Linked DNA regions of Homo sapiens: region 1 is linked to region 2. Evidence: promoter capture Hi-C in human tissues and cell types (Jung and others, 2019). All regions are on one chromosome and are shown on one strand. Each heading gives the region's core, a stretch centred on a gene start or on the middle of the fragment in contact. The rest is flanking DNA. Distances are from core to core; before and after follow the strand shown.

The links. Contacts are between HindIII fragments. The study calls those that stand out against the background at their distance.
Region 1: a fragment that was not itself captured here is called in contact with the fragment with the promoter of HSPB8 in region 2 in 2 of the 25 tissues and cell types used here (pancreas and thymus).

Annotation. Positions count from the first base shown.
Region 1 is chr12:119,010,618-119,014,039 of GRCh38, forward strand. The region is part of intron 1 of SRRM4 (serine/arginine repetitive matrix 4); the gene reads left to right. Among named protein-coding and RNA genes, the nearest start is that of SRRM4, 31 kb to the left of the region's middle. The HindIII fragment of the contact is 5,955 bases long and covers 1-3,422 here.
Region 2 is chr12:119,177,080-119,180,544 of GRCh38, forward strand. It overlaps HSPB8 (heat shock protein family B (small) member 8), which reads left to right and starts at 1,852. Exons shown (of 3, transcript NM_014365.3): 1 at 1,852-2,600. The coding sequence starts at 2,234. RefSeq lists enhancers at 1-275, 1,455-2,204. The HindIII fragment of the contact is 13,927 bases long and covers 1-3,465 here.

The sequences.
Region 1 (3,422 bases), core at 432-2,931, 170 kb before region 2:
GCCTTTTGGGAATATGATATTTCAGCATTTATCAAAAATTTTAAAAAATCTGCCTACTCCATGACCAGCTCTTGATGTCAACACTAAAGGAAAAAGGAGGTGAGTTCAAGAGTGTTTATTGCAGCCATGTTTGTTATCAGGAAGAATCTGCAAACAGCCCAGATGCTCTTAATTAGGAAAATGGCTAAATAAATTATGAAATATGCATAATTATGGAATACAATACAACAGTTGAAAAAATGCAGTAAATTCATGTGTATTAAACATAGATCTCTAAAAGACTGTGACAGGAAAAAGCAAACTGTGGGATGACACACAAGTTGTAATGTTATTTTATATAATACATGTAGGAAAAAGCATCTATCTATGTATACAAAAGAACACTATGTACTCTATATAAATATATATGTGTAGAAAAATGCTTCAAAGGATGTACACCAAACTGTCAATGACAGCATCACATATGAAGAAGAGGGGGATATTTTAGCTTTATCTCTGTGACTACATATTTAATAAAAAATGTTTTCATCATTCACAAGCTTTCCTCCTGTGTTAGTTATGTATACAAACATGAATTTGAAAAAAAAGGAAGAGTAGGTGGAAGACACATACATGGCAAAAAACAAATAAACAAAGTACTATGAAGAAGATTAGATTTCTATAGTCAGGTTTTTCAACCTTGGCACTACTGACATTTAGGGCCAGCCAGATAATACTTCCTTGTGGGGAGCTGTCCTGTGCACTGCAGGATGTTTAGCAGCATCTCTGGCCTCTACCCACTAGATGTCATTAGCACCACCCTCCCTTTGGGCTGTGACAATCAAACATGTCTCTAGACCGTGCCAAATGTCCCCTGGGGAGCAAAGTTGCCACTGGTTGAGAATCACTCATCTAGAGATACATTTCCATCTACCCCTAGATGATCTAGTCAGAAAAATCTGAAATGCTGAAAACCTCAGGACCATTAAGACAACGTTTGCAAATCAAGAGATGTCTAAGACTTTGGAAATTAAAAAAATAAAATAAAAGCCACATTGGTTTGTGTCTCCTGCCTTCCCATGGGTTTGGGGCGTGGCAGAGCTGCACAGTGAAAGGAGGAGCATGTGATTGGAGTCTGACAGTGCTAAGCTCCCTGAGTCTGTCCCTTCTACAAAATAGGGAGACCAGTGCCATTGCCGAGTGTCAGTTGTGGGCATCTTACTGCACATAGCTTGAGCCTTGGAATTGGAAGACCTGGTTGCCAATCTCAGCTGGGCAACATTGGGCAGGCCACTTTGCCTTCCTCAGCTCTAAGCTCACCTGTAAAATGGGGATGATGGTAGTGTCCACCTCATAGGTTGAATTTGAGGATTAAGTAAGGTAACATCTGCAAGCATTTAGCACTGTCCTGATATCTAGTTAAGTGCTCAGTAAATGGTTGCCATAATGCTCTTGGTGACAATGTTTGTAAATTGTATATTAGACAGTGTCCTGATATAAATCAATAGTTTTTACATGGAAAAAGAGGACCAGAGCTTTTCTTTTTCACCTCCCTGGGATCATCGTCTGGGAATTCAGATGTCTGCCCTGAAATGAAAGGGCACCATTCATTCATTCGTGCAGCAAGGGTTTATAATTTGCTGACCAAGGGCCACTTCCTTAAGATAGAGATGAATGAGTCCTCCCCATGGGGGGATGGAAACGCTGCATCATGACCTGGCATCTGAACTGGACTCACCTGGGGGTCTTTTTCATCAAGGTTGCCATGATATATCTCCCGAGAGGATATCCCCTGACTTAGCAACATTCCTCAGAGACAAAGCTTTCTGTGAACTCTGTGAATTCTTCTCTCCTGGCCACATTCCCTGCCCCCATACTCAGCCTTTCCCCACTTTGGAACTGTAGGGCAAATTTATAACAATTATAAGAACACAGTTTTCTCTTGTTGTTCTCATTCTTCTACCTGTCTGTTCTTTTCTTTCTCAACTAACAGACTCCCCCAAGATGATCTTTGTCTACCACTGAGTCCCGCTCTCTTTCTTCAAGGGCACTCCTGCTCTCTGAGCCAAATTCTTCCTTCAGCCACATGTGGTCTCTATCCTTGTTCTTTAACCCATGATTCTTTGATATTTCTCTGCAAAGACCCTACAATGTTCCTTTATTTTTATGTGGTCAGATACTTCTCACTTGTGCATTTCCGCTTTTCTTGTCTCTATTGATACTTCCTCTGTTTGGTGATTTTCTCTGTTGATATTTACTACATCTTCATTGACTCCTACCCAAGACACAGACAGACCCAATTACCCTCTAAACCTTAGGGAAGGCGCCAAAGAAAAATTTCACCAGGTGTTTTACATCAACCTGGGAGGTAATGCTATTTACTCTCAGCATGCACTAGGCCACAGGTGGAATTAGCAGAAGGAAAGGTGAATGCTGGATCACCCTCCAGCATCTCCAGATATGCCTTCACAGTGGGGAAACATCATTATTGTTTCCTTAACTAAGTTAAGTGACATGATCTTCAAGAATACTAGATCAATGTTTGCACATGAGTAACAAACAAAATTTTGGAGTCAATCAGGCTGTTTCCTTTCTGTACCATTTTGCCCCTCCTGTAGCATAAAGAATGTCAACAACAACAAATCTGTAGCATTTCCAGTTCAGAGATGAGAAAAATCAGGCCCAGAGAGGCTAAGCAATTAACCCAGTGCAACACAGCCAAAACAGAACATGAACCAGGGTTAAGATTCAAATGATATGATTTTCAGATTTTAAGTTCAGTACTGAATGATCTGCTTTCTTCTAAATATTTTGTAAATGAGTTTTAATCATAAAAGTTACACATGACAATGGTTTATAAAAAGTACTGCAGAAGTATTAAAAAACCCCAAAATTTCCTTCATCTTAACTTTGTACTCCTTTCTTTTAGACACAACTACTATTGTGCTTTCTAATGTATTCTTCCAGAAATATTTTATATGAAAATACAATGTATTATGCTGGGAAACTTGCCTTTTCTTCTTAACTTTGTATTTTGGATTTTTAAAATATATGACTGCATTTAGAACTACCCTGTTATTTTTTTAATGGCTGCATTATATTTGATTGTATAGATGTATCATTTATTTAATCAATATCCTATTGATTTATAATCAGGTTGTTTTCAGGATTTTTGCTGTAACAAACAGTACTACTGTAAACATTTTGGTACATTTATTTTGGCCTACCTTGGAGGGTATATCTATACTATAAATTCCTAGAAACGGAATTGTTAGAAATTTCCAGAAAATGATACTGTCTCATTGCCCACCCCAAAGTGTGCATGCTACCCTCCCCTTCTTCCCAACCCAGGGTATAAGAATCATTTTATTTGACCATTACTTGATGGTCAAAGTACTTGACCATTACTTGATCATTACTTGATAAGTTGGAGAATTATCAAG
Region 2 (3,465 bases), core at 602-3,101:
AACGACATGCCTAAAATTTTCTGCCTGTTGCGGACAGATCAAAGATTAGAACCCAAGCCGAAGAGGCCTCCAAGCCAAAGGAGGATTTGTAAATTCATTCTTCCAGCTGCATGGGAAGAGCAGGAAAGTCTAGATTTGGGGCTTTGAGTTTCAGACCAGACCTCCTGCCTGAGTGTAACATCTTTCAATAATTATCAGTATTAACAGTCATAATAATAATAGAAGCTACTATTCATGAACACTTCTATGGTAGTTTTCTCATCTGTAAAATGGGATAATACTGGTACTCTTACCTCACAGGATTGCTGGTGAGGGTTAAATGAATTCATATTTATAAAGCCCATAGAGCAGGGCCTGGCATATAGCAAACATTATGTAATTGATAACTCAAAATTGAAAATACAAGGAGAAAGAGAATTACCTCATGTATTCTTCATGGTACATCTGTGAGTTGGCTACTGTTATGTCCGTTTATAAGGAGGAAAACTAACAACCTGGAGGTGCCTGGGAATAATGTTACTGCCTATAAAGATGCTTTGATTGACCAAACATTAATCGGATTTCTGAATCTTCTCCTAAGCCCATCAGTGAGGTTCCTTATAAAAATTCAGTTTTGGGCCAGGCGAGGTGGCTCACGTCTGTAATCCCAGCACTTTGGGAGGTGGAGGCAGGTGGATCATGAGGTCAGGAGTTCAAGACCAGCCTGGCCAAGATGGTGAAATCCAACTCTACTAAAAAATACAAAAATTAGCCGGGCACGATGGCGGGTGCCTATAATCCCAGCTACTCGGGAGTCTGAGGCAGAAGAATCGCTTGAACCTGGAAGGCGGAGGTTGCAGTGAGCGGAGATGGCGCAACTGCGCTCTAGCCTGGGGGACAGAGTGAGACTCTGTCTCAAAAAAAAAAAAGAAAAGAAAGAAAGAAAAATTCAGTTTTGGCATGAACTCTGCTAAGTCTGTTTAGTAGCAACCACCCATCTTCGATTTCTGATCACCCTCGATATCTGATTAGTTTCCTCATCCTCCGCGGTCCCCCAGGTGATGTCTGAGCACCCTGGCCTGTCTTCAGCAAGAATCCTCTTAGGTTAGCTGAGCCCGAATCCCTCTGACTCCTGGACTTCCCTCCTAGTAAATTTCCATTCGCTGACCCCCCACCTGCTTCTTGGCTACAAATTCACACTTACCCATGACCTACTGGGAATCAAGTCTAATCTTTCTCCCTCACTGCAAAATCCCATTGCAGGGGTCCCTACATCTATGGAGAAAGTTTCCCTGCCCAGTAAAGTCTTGCTTGTCATACTTTAACAAGCGTCATATGAATATATATATACACATTAAAAAAATTTTTTTTTTCCTTTACCAATCTCCCCAGAGGGCATTGAGGCTCTAGGAGCTTGGCCATCTTGTAAGTGGGGATTGCAACCCAGGGCCATCCTTCAAATCCACTGGGCTCCTGTCTCTCTCTTCCCTTTCTGCAGGTCCCCAGGGGAAAGGCAGGATACGACACGCTCTAGGGAAGGTATTTCCAGAGGGTGACCTGAGCCCTCAGCCAGGCTCGGGGTTATTAATAGCCAGGCCTTAGTGCCCCGCTCGGGGAGGGCGGCTCCAGCTCCTGGAGCAAGAGGAGGGCGGAGCTGAGCGGAGTGGCCAGGGGAGGAGAGAGTGTCCGGAGAGGCCGGCTGAACTTGGACGCGGCCCCTCCCAGCTCCCCCCACAGCCCAGCTGTTCCCTCCGCGGATTCTCCGGGGCTGGTTCATCACCTCCGAATATTCCTGTGACAGGAGACGCTTGCAAAACCCGCCTCCAGCCTCCAGCAGCAAATAAATAGAAGGCTTGCAGCCCAGAAGGAGCCAGAAGAAGTTTCTAGGCGCGCGTGCCCTGGGTTTATTAAGCTCCTGGCTCCGCTCTAGACCTCAGCGGTTCTGGCTGCCAGCCTGGGCAGCCTGGGAAGCCTGGGAGGACGGTGGCTTGCCGGTCTGTCGTGAGGCAGTGCGGACGGGGACCCTCTGGGATTCTGCTGGATCTGCCCCGGGGGTTACCTTTGGGGGCTGGGACCCCAGTCGAGGGGACACAACCGTCCCTGGCAGTGGTTGGTTCTGCTTCTCCCTGCAGAAAAGCAGCATTTTCGGAAGCTGAAGAATAAGCTAGCCCAGCCACACCACCTTGTTGTGTGACCTTGGGCAGGTGGTTCTGTCTCTCTGAGCCTCTGTTTCTCTCTGAGCTGAGCAGCCACCATGGCTGACGGTCAGATGCCCTTCTCCTGCCACTACCCAAGCCGCCTGCGCCGAGACCCCTTCCGGGACTCTCCCCTCTCCTCTCGCCTGCTGGATGATGGCTTTGGCATGGACCCCTTCCCAGACGACTTGACAGCCTCTTGGCCCGACTGGGCTCTGCCTCGTCTCTCCTCCGCCTGGCCAGGCACCCTAAGGTCGGGCATGGTGCCCCGGGGCCCCACTGCCACCGCCAGGTTTGGGGTGCCTGCCGAGGGCAGGACCCCCCCACCCTTCCCTGGGGAGCCCTGGAAAGTGTGTGTGAATGTGCACAGCTTCAAGCCAGAGGAGTTGATGGTGAAGACCAAAGATGGATACGTGGAGGTGTCTGGTAAGTCAGGGGCAGGAGGGAGAGAGAATGGGGAGGCCGGGATGTAGCCCTCAGCCCTGGGAATAGCCAGAGAAAGTTTCCTGGGAGCTGACGTTGGGACAGTGTGACACAGGTGACCTCAGGGCTCAGGAATGCAGCCTGCAAAGTTATCTTTACGGAAAACTTCTCTCCCGGCTCCCAGCAGAGATCTTAACCTGCCTGACTCAGCTATTGGGGCCTCTGGGTGCTCATCAATCATGGTACAGACAGGAAAATAGAAACCATGTTGGATATTTTGACAGAGGGCATTTAATATAAAGAATAGGTTAAGCAGATATCAAAGAATTAAAAAACAAAGAAGAAACGGGATTTTGTGCACTCCAGCATCATAACAGAGTCTAGAAGTGCACGTTAAGGCTGAACAATGATAGTGTTAATAACCGCAACTGGTTTCCGGTGAAACACCTCTCCTTGTCCCAGACAGGGAAACTGAGGCTTACCAGTAATTGTAGTAACACTAACTGGTAACTCTGAGTGCTAACTATTCGCTCAGCACTTTGCTAACTGCTGTTGCCTATAATATCTCAGCTAATACCACAACCAGAGGAGGTGGGTACTGTTTATCTTCTTTTTTCAGATGAGGAAACTGAGGCACGGAGAGATTAAAGTAACTTGTTCAAGGCCACCAAGGAGTCAGACCCAGGTTGTCTGGGAATTAGGAGGCCAGAAAGAAGAAGTGATGATTTACTGAGCACCTACTAGGTGCCAAGGGTGGGCTGACATTCTTATACTTCTCCAAAATCATCCTCAGTCCACTCCAGGGTAGCAGGGTAGGCCCATCTTGCAGCTGAGGAGGCTGAGGCCTAGGTGGGACTCGTTCACAGTC